Regions from separate parts of the Homo sapiens genome. Here all the other regions are linked to region 1. Evidence: promoter capture Hi-C in human tissues and cell types (Jung and others, 2019). All regions are on one chromosome and are shown on one strand. Each heading gives the region's core, a stretch centred on a gene start or on the middle of the fragment in contact. The rest is flanking DNA. Distances are from core to core; before and after follow the strand shown.

Region 1 (3,114 bases), core at 162-2,661:
TGGAAGGGTAAGTGTATTTCAAGCCCTAGTGATACAGACCAACTTGGAAGCTTCAGACAGGAAAAGTTTGCTAGATAGTTATTTATTTTTAACTAAGCATGTACTTTTATGTATCTCCCATATGGCATGGAACACCTGCTCACTGCAGCCTGGAGCTCCTGGGCTCAAGTGATCCTCCCACCTCAGCCTTCTGAGTAGCTTGGACAGCAGGCGCGTGTCACCACATCAGTTAATTTTTGTTATTTTTTGTAGAGAGGGGGTCTCAATATGTTGCCCAGGCATTATGGATTTTATGCATTCGGGACCATCCCATGCTTAAAGCATGACAGAACCCGGCGGCATATTTTTCTCTGCCGCAGCTTTCAGTGCAGGGGCACCTCACAGGCAGGGCGGGGTCAAGGCTCTGTCCAGACAATGGCTGCAGAGTAAAAAGCACTTCCATTTATGGGGGTCAAGGGCGAGGGGAGGGAGAAAGGAGCAGGGAAAGAGGAGAAGTGGCCACATGTACTTTGATTTGTTTTTTGCTTTTTGTTACATGTACTTTTGAAGCAGTATTTAGAAGTAGCCTCTCCTACAGCCCCTGCTGTAGCTTGTCTCCTAGCTGTGAGGTGAGTTATTCAGTACCCTCTAACGTAAAAATGACCTTCAGACAGACAGACAGACACACACACACACACACACACACACACAGAGGAAAACAGCTCTGTCATCCACTTTTTCTTCCTTTCCCGTCCCCAGACCCTCGATTCTCTCTTTAAAATGACTGCTGTGAAGATAACGTAACACAGAGTAATACTAATGACAAATTATCAAAAAAGAAAAAAAAAATAAAAATCTTTATTAGTGTTTTTTAAAATGACGTAAAAGACTATGGGAAAAAATGCCAACAATAGTTATGTATAACTTTTTTGTTCATATTTCCAAAACGTTTATAACATACATAACTTTAAAAGAAAAATAATTTAAAAAATACATATCTGAAAATGAAACCCCGCTGTTTGCCAACGACCAGCTGGCTTAATCTGACTTCGCAGATGTAGCAGTGTTGGAAAACGTCGGTTCTTTTGCTGAGGGAAGGAAGAGATGGGAGGGGTAGAAAGGGCGGTGGTTATTCCCTTTAGTATTTCGATCCGGTCACACAACCTAAATCCAACATCTGCATCAAATGTCTCCTTTCCGAAATACTCTCCCTAAAATGACAGAGAACCTGGCCAGGCGGACAGAACGGCCCCTGCGCATTTGCAGGGGTCCTGGTGGGCTTGCCGGGCAGAGGGCGTGCGGGTCTCAGCAAGCTGCCGGGTCCGCCCAGGCCCCGCCCCATGCCCATTCAGGCCCCGCCCCCGACCCGCAGGCCCCGCCCCCGACCCGCCCCGTCCGCCTCCGTCACGTGATGGGGCGCCGGGTCCAGCCTGTTGCTGATGCTGCCGTGCGGTACTTGTCATGGAGCTGGCACTGCGGCGCTCTCCCGTCCCGCGGTGGTTGCTGCTGCTGCCGCTGCTGCTGGGCCTGAACGCAGGTAGGTTCAAGCAAGAGGCGCACCAGCTGCCATGCCTCTTTTTTCTCCAGGCGTGAGAGTTTGTTACTGGGTTTGTGCTTTTGAAAACATGTCTCTTTTCCCCGGTTCTTACCTTGTGTAATTATATTGCTTTTGAATCTCACTCTTTTTTTTTTTTTTCCTTAAAAAATTCAAAGTGCTTTTTTTGTCCTTTTCTGGCTCTGGGTGGTCTGAGTGCTTCCGTTCTCTCCTACGCCTAGATAGAAGCTGTGTGCAGAAATGTATGATTTGGGGAAACTGCTGGTCAATGAGGTTTCCCCGATTCAAAGGCCATGATTGGCTGCTAAATGAGGATATAAGGTCGTTTTATTTTAAGCTGAAATCTGCGGTCAAAAGTACCCTTACATCCTACCACGAATGGGACATTTCATTGAGATAAGGCCCTTTCTTTTCTTGATCAAAACAAACAAGATAACATCTTCCCCCACAGCGATCTTTTTTGGCAAAAAACAGATTTGTGTTTAATAGGATGACTTGCAAATTGATTTTCAGCAAAACCTCTCCTAGTCTGAAGCAAGCACTGAGAATTGGAACTGGCCACAAGCTTGCCTTGTGACCTTAGGCAAGTTGTTGAACAGTTTTGTTTTCCTTTTCTAAAATGGGGATCATCTGGCCCTTAGGCGAGTGTCTGGGAGATTTTGTAAAATAAGTAGCTCTGCCAATTTTACCAGTAGTCACTGCCAGGCAAGGGAGAAGTGCCTGGGGTTAGGTCAAAAGGTACCTGCGCCTTATCTGTCATTCTCAAGGGAGCGCAGCCTTATCTGTTATTGTCAAGGACAATATAATCGTGTGTTACTTGTATATAGAACCTTATAGCTAAGTCTGTAATGTTTTAGTCATCTGTTTTGCTCCTCAGGACACTTTCTGGTTTTCTTAATCTTCATTGTTGTTTTGTTTTGAGTCAGGGTCTCACTATGTTGCCCAGGCTGGTCTGGAACTGCCTGACTCAAGTGATCTTCCTACTTCAGCATCCCAAGTAGCCCGGACTGCAGACACAGGCCACCACCCTGGCTCTTTCTTATTTACAAGACGTTGTCTCATTGTCTTCCTCTCTACTCCTGTCTCTTTAGCTGTTGGGACCAGTGTTCTTTTACTGACCAATGGGGCTTGAAATTTGAGAAGGGAGGAAATAGAAGGCAGAAAACTCCAGTCACCGAGGGGATCCCCCCCATCATCTTTTAACAACAGCCCCTCTACTTTTTTTTTTCCCAGAGTGGTTTTGGAGGAAAAAAAAAAAGATGCTATAACTTGGAAATTGTTACGTTAGCAAAAAGTGACAAAGAAAATGTATTTAGCCTACTCTTTTCTAAAACATATTTTGTGGATGCTAGAAAAGTTAAGTAAGGAAAATTGGAGTTAGGGGATTATAGGATACGTATATTAAACACACATACACAGATATATATCGTTCAGTTTAAAAAAATCATCTACATGAGTTAGGAAAATTGCCCTTTTTCATATTTGTTGTAGCTCTTTCCTTGCTGTTTGCCTTTTTATTTTTGATTTACAGAAATTTTGTTGTATAGAAATATAACAAGTTTCTGTTCTCACCTCCATCA
Region 2 (3,044 bases), core at 217-2,716, 630 kb after region 1:
CCATGTACCAGCAGCCTTGGCAGCCCCTAGGAGCTGGTTAGGAATGCAGAGTCCCAGGACCCACCCTAGACCTACAGAGTCAGAATCTGCATGCTGACAAATCCCCAGTGATTGGCGTGCACATTAAAGTCTGAGAAGCACCAGGCAAGGGCCACTGCTAATGACAGATAATGTGGGACTTGTGGGTCATAAATTGCCCAGCCATCATCATCAGAAGGAAGGGACTTGGGAATGAAGGGAGCACGGAGCCAGGCCAAATGGGGCCAAACCAGGCCTGGCACCTGGACCTCCAGGCCAGTCTGGTGCTCTTGGCACCACTCCATACTCCCTCTATGGTCAAACAGAGACCAGATTTCCGAAGATCTCCCAGAGGAAGCTCTCAGTGCCAGAGACTGCTCCCGCCCCTCACCATGCCCTACCCCTCTGGGTGCAGGCCTTGGAGCATTGCTTGCAGAAGACACGTGAGGCATGCATCTCTTGGGGTAAAGGGCTCGATTCTCCTGAGTGAGGTGCACGTGTCCTTGTCCCCAAGTCGGGACCTGCTGGGTCACTTAGAGGCACCAAGAGAGCCTTGGAACCTGAGCCTGAATCCCAGGTCCACCGCTGGTGATTCTGTAACCACAGGCGAGTGCCCTACCTGTCTGCACCAGTTTGCTCCTGTGGGAAATCAGAAGGTTGAGGATGGCTGCCTTTTGCAGCTTATATAAAGCTCTGCTTTGATACCTGGAGGTCTCGGCCTGTTCTGTTGTAGGGTATGTAATTGGGTAGCCTTGAAGGAATCAGCCCTTGATAACTTCACGTTTCCCCCACTGGGCCTAAGCCAGGGGCCAGCAAATTTTCTGTAACGGGCCAGAGAGTCTCTGTCACATCTACTCAGCCCTGCCATTGTAGCACAAACACAGTCCAGGCAATATATAAATGAAGGGGCGTGGCTGTGTTCAAATAAAGCTTATTTGCAAAAACTCATGGCAGCTGGGTTTGGCCTGCTGGCCACAGTTTGTTGACTCCTGGACTAAACTAATCTAGCTCAGAGCAGGCCCAGTCAGGGTGCTCCTTGTCTACAGGGGTCCAATGAAAGGCATTTAGCCAAATGGTCAGCCAGTTTCACTATTGAGCACACATTATTAGGGGCAGAGTAGAAAGGGGGTGCCCCAAACAGGCACACGAGTTTGGGGATAGCAGCCTGTGGAAAGTATCAGTGCCTTCATTCTTTGGGGGAGCCCCCAGGTGGGGAGTGACACAATGGTCAGAACAGGGTGCTGTCAACCAGGGCGGCCTTCCTGGTAGAGGGTGCCTCAAGTCCTCAGTGCTGAACCCCCTTCCACTTCCCAGCTTTGTGGCCTTGGGCAAGTTACTTCTGTGTTTCGGCTCTGTGGTTCCCCTTTCTATAAAACAGGTTGTGGTAGTGCCTACCTCGGAGAGTGCTGTGACTTAAGACTTGTAAGGGGTTTGGAACAGAGCCAGGCCATGGCACGCTCTCTATCAGAGTGATAGATTTTTTCACCACTGTCGTCATTGTCATCATTCTTAGAATTATTTTACTGAGCAAATAAAGAGTTAGCAGGTAAGGAGGTCCTCAGCAGATTATAAGTCAGTAAAATGCAAGTGGTGCGGGACCTGGGCAGGACTGGGTCCCGAGCCTGCGGGGCAGGGATGGAGAGTATGAGGTGGGCACTCTCAGTGCCTCTGGGGATGGTCCTAGGAAAGGAGGTGGTGCACCTCCCAAAGCAGGAGGAACCAAGAGATGTGATTGTCTAGGTCCTGGAAAAGCTGAGTCCCACTCTTCACCTGACTCATTCTTTAAGAAGGTTCCAGAAAAATCCACTTCTAAGAGCAAAGCCTACTGAGATCTTAGGCCTGCTACCCTTCAGCCCAGGGCATACCTGGGGGATTGACTCGGAACAGGGGATTCTGGGGAAGGAAGGGCAGAAGGATAAGAAGGGAGGAGGGTCCTGAGCTGTCCTCTTGGACTCAGGGCTGCGGTGCTGTGACCAGCCCATCCATGGAGGCCAGCCGCAGGCTAGGGTCGGCTTCTGGGCCCTGCCACCTGGCAAGGTGCCCAGTGATTGGCTCACCCCCCCACTCCTTCCAGCTGCTCCTCCTCAGCCCTGAAGACAACTCAGTCGGGAACCAGCCCAAAAGTGGTGGGTGTATTTGTGTGTGGGGAGGGGGGCGGGTAATGTGGGTGGAATTAACTAGGCTTCTGTATTCACAATCCTATTTGTAGCATCATTCTCACTCGTAAGCTAATTTTAGCCATCCATTCTGCTTCTGTTGCCATTTATAAAATGAGAATGTCAAATGCAATATTAAACAAGCAGGATGAAGGCAAAAAAGGAAATGCCAGAGAGGCATTTAATAAATGAATCTGGTGTTTACGTGGGAGAGGGAGAGATCCTGCCCCCCACGCATCACACACGCAAGCGCGTGCACATGCTGTTTGTGTACAGGCTGTGTTAATGAGAGCAGAGTGATTAGTGTGTTGGGGGAGGCCGGGTGGTTCGGTGGTAAATGTTTGTTGCTCTTTAGGCAGAAGTAATTTGGCCTGCAGGGAGTGGCCTCCCAGTTGCCTGAGTGGTTCGCTTGCCCTTCATCTGTCCTCTGGCGATGTCAGTGTAGGCAGGGCCAGGGAGGGCAGTGGTCTGTCTCCTCAGTATCTCAGCACCCAGTGCCTCTGGGCTTTTCTGAACGTGCTGCCACCAGCGTCCCCGTACTCCACCCCCAGGGCGCAGGGTCATGAGAGGGGAGCATGGAGACCACTAGGAGGGGCTGCCCCCCCTTCTCTTCTGCCTCTTCCCCGCGCAGAAGGCAGGGCATGAACAGTCTGCGCCCGTATGCAGCTGCAGAGACCAAGCCCAGAGTAGCGTGGCTCTTGCCTGGACTCTTGCCAATTTCTCTTCTAGTTTCACTCTAGTTTCCCCAGGGCCTGGGAGTTCTGTCCCTGGTTCTTCCTTTGCCCTCTTCTTTCAGCTGCCTCTGCCTAGAAAAGAAGGCTCAAGCCATACCTTTTATTTTCTCCCTCTTTTAAATAAATGAAGTTAGGC
Region 3 (3,081 bases), core at 142-2,641, 650 kb after region 1:
GAATCTTGAACCCGGGAGGCTGAGGTTGCAGTGAGCCAAGATCACACCACTGCACTCCAGCCTGGGTGACAGTGCAAGATTCCATCTCAAAAACAAACAAACAAAAAAACAGAAATGGTCTCGTGCAGCCCCTCAGACTTTGCGGCACCGCACCAAGAGGTGCCCACAGTTATCCAGCTCAATGTGATAGAATCTCTTTCATTTTTCTTAATGAAGGTGAACTTAATAAAAGCAAACACATGATGATTGTTGATATATTTTATTTCTCTGAGCCTTCTCTGCCACATAATCCCACTGCCTTTAACTTTCTTGGCCTCGTTGGGCACATGCTGTTTATTTAACATGCTGATACGAGTGTTAGAGAAATAGCACATTGCTGAGCCCTCAAAGAAAAGCTTCACCCTAGCAGGCCCAGAAACGAAGAGAGGCTGATGATCAGCTAAAGCACGTTAGCCAAAAGCATTCTTAGGTGCAGTCGTACTGAGAAGCCCCGCGTGAAGTCCTGACTCAGTGTTCCCTGACATTAAGCCCCCTGAAATGTGAGCAAAAAAAAAAAGTATCGTTAAGAACAGGCACTAGGAAGCTGTAATCTGCTGGCGTTCACTAACAGATCAAAAGATTGGAGATTGGCTGGAACTTAAAACCACATATCTACACTCAATTTCGACGGGGATCTGGCTTTCCCAAAAATATCTGTTTAGGTTATTCTCAAGGAAGTGTTCCTTTGTTTAGCCGCTTCCTGGTGGACAGAGGAAACTCAGAATTCAGCTCTTCATTGTCCCTGTAGAGCAGTGCAGTCCAATAGAACTTCCTGCAAGGGAGGGAAGGTCCTGTCTGCACTAGCCAATATCACTAGCCGCCTGTGCACGGTAGCTGCTGAGCCCTTGAGTTGTGGCTTTTGCGAATGAGGAACTGGAGCTTTCATTTTAGATAATTTGAATTAAATTTAAATTGGACGGCGCAGGTCTGGAGGAGCCCCTGCAACTCAGGGTGATTCTGGGGGCAAAGCATCTTTGTAGACTTTAGCCTTCGCGTCCTTGCCTAGGAAGGACTCTTGGCACTTGGTGTTTAGTCTGTTTGCAGACCTCATGGAGCCGATGAGGTGCCCCAGGCAGTGCTCTAAACATCACGCAGCAGATATGTCACACTCTGGCAGTTCCCTGGATAAACAGCCCTGTCTCTTGTCTCTTTCAAGTCTGGGGCCTGGTGGGAGCCGTTTTCCATGACTCTGAGTAGCTGAGTAACAGAGCCCGGGAGAAGATGAGTCATGGACCCGTCTAGAAGGGAAACATCTCTAGGGTTGCAGCAAAGATCTAGAACCAGAACCACAGTTTTGACAACTTTGTCAGCATCCCCAAAATGGGGACTCAAAATGAGCTCAGTGGCAAATCCAAATTCTATTGTTGATTTCTGTATTTTTGCTTCTGCAATGGAAAGCCGATCTGCAAGAGAGGTGGTCACCCTGGCAGAAGCCTTGATTTTTTTTTACTTTAGTGACAAGAGATAATTACTGTGGGATTGATCAGGCGTCCAGAGTATTGGAGCAGATAAATTGTGCAGTGGCCAGTGTGGGAGGGGCCAGGCTGCTAATGGAAGTGGTGGCTGGGTCATCCCACCGTAATGTGGCTTGACGGAGCGTCTGCACGGGTCTGCTGTAATGTGCTATTGATATGCAGCCAGCCAATTTCCCCCGTGTGGCTGGGGCTGTGAACCATTCGAGCAGAGCTGGGCTGCACAGCAGTAAATGAAGAGGAAAATTGAAGTAATGTTGTATTATAAATTTATGATTTCATCTGCCTGACCTAGAGGATGTTCGGCGATTGGGGGTGGAGATAAGATCCCCCGCTCTGGCAGATGCCGAATTCTCATCTTTGTGGTTTGGGAGACTATAGTATTGATGTGTCCAGGAAGAGTGGGGTGAGACCCAAAGTTGGGGTGAACTTGACCATGCTTTTCTTCTTTCTCGTTGAAGCCTTGTAGGAAAGCCAGGAAGAAAGCAGGTATAATTGCATTGTATTTGTCACCTAAGTGCAGGGAGAAACTGGCTGCTCTGCCACTTCCCACCCTCCCTGAGGGAAGGTGACACATAGGCTTATGCTTTTGCTGTCAGATTAACACTAAAATATTTAAGACCCCCAGCTCTGAAGTTAGAAGCAAAGGAGCCATTTTTCATCTGGAAAGCCCCTAGGCAGCCATGACTTGGCTGTTTGCATATAATCCATTTATCAATATTGTTGAAATCATGGTATAAGAAATCTAGTACAAGATCTGATTTGCTAGCAGGTGATTAATTTGGAGGAGAACTGAGCTGCCTAGCCACGAAATAAATACGAAGGAAGGCGCCAGTATGCATGTGTCCATTTAAGGCATCTGAGCCCTGGCCTTTGCTGTTCTTCCTTCCTTCTTTCTCCGTCGGGTTGCTGAGCTCAACATCCCACCGGGCTCCTGCTCCTTAGCTAGCAGTCAGTGCAGAGCTGCTGGGTCCTTCTGCCTCGCTTGGGCAGGCTTCTGTCAATGAGTCACCAAGCACCGGGAAATAAGTGCACAGGAAGGAGCAGGTGGCAAGACCCTGTGGAGGTAGAGACAGTTCCATTCAGTGAGTGAGCTGTGACTGCAAATTTGGGAAGGTTCTGGGGGAAGCAAGGGAAAGGAGCCACAGCTGGTCTCACTCAAGAATTTGGGCACGTCACTGTTGCAAGGGACCCACAAGGCTTTCTACAGGTGACAAGACTAAGCTCCAAGAGAAAAAGGAAGACTCCTATCTTAAGTCGGGTTGCTGTCACAGATTACCATAGACGAGGTGGCTTATGAACAACAAACATTTATTTCTCACAGTTCTGGAGGCTGGGAAGTAAAGATCAAGGTGCTGGCTGATTCTGTGTCTGGTGAGGGCCCGCTTCCTCATAGATGGCCCCTTCTAACCGTGTCCTCACGTGTTGGAAGGGGTGAGGGTCTCTCTGTGACCTCTTTGTTAAGGGCACATTCATGAGGGCTCCACCTCATGGCCTCATCACACCCCAAAGGCCCCATCTCCTAAGGCCATCACCTTGGGGGTTAAGATTTCAACATAGAAATTTGGGG

The links. The method cuts DNA at HindIII sites, captures the fragments that hold promoters and counts their contacts. A contact is called where the count stands out against the background at its distance.
Region 2: a fragment that was not itself captured here is called in contact with the fragment with the promoter of SCPEP1 in region 1 in 1 of the 25 tissues and cell types used here (heart right ventricle).
Region 3: a fragment that was not itself captured here is called in contact with the fragment with the promoter of SCPEP1 in region 1 in 1 of the 25 tissues and cell types used here (hippocampus).

Annotation. Positions count from the first base shown.
Region 1 is chr17:56,976,720-56,979,833 of GRCh38, forward strand. It overlaps SCPEP1 (serine carboxypeptidase 1), which reads left to right and starts at 1,412. Exons shown (of 13, transcript NM_021626.3): 1 at 1,412-1,516. The coding sequence starts at 1,441. RefSeq lists a silencer at 1,295-1,354. The HindIII fragment of the contact is 4,443 bases long and covers 1-3,114 here.
Region 2 is chr17:57,602,801-57,605,844 of GRCh38, forward strand. All of the region lies in intron 8 of MSI2 (musashi RNA binding protein 2), which reads left to right. The region is part of intron 2 of MSI2-AS1 (MSI2 antisense RNA 1); the gene reads right to left. Among named protein-coding and RNA genes, the nearest start is that of MSI2-AS1, 4.1 kb to the right of the region's middle. RefSeq lists enhancers at 260-759, 2,414-3,044. The HindIII fragment of the contact is 4,868 bases long and covers 1-3,044 here.
Region 3 is chr17:57,622,109-57,625,189 of GRCh38, forward strand. The region is part of intron 9 of MSI2 (musashi RNA binding protein 2); the gene reads left to right. Among named protein-coding and RNA genes, the nearest start is that of MSI2-AS1, 15 kb to the left of the region's middle. The HindIII fragment of the contact is 6,327 bases long and covers 1-3,081 here.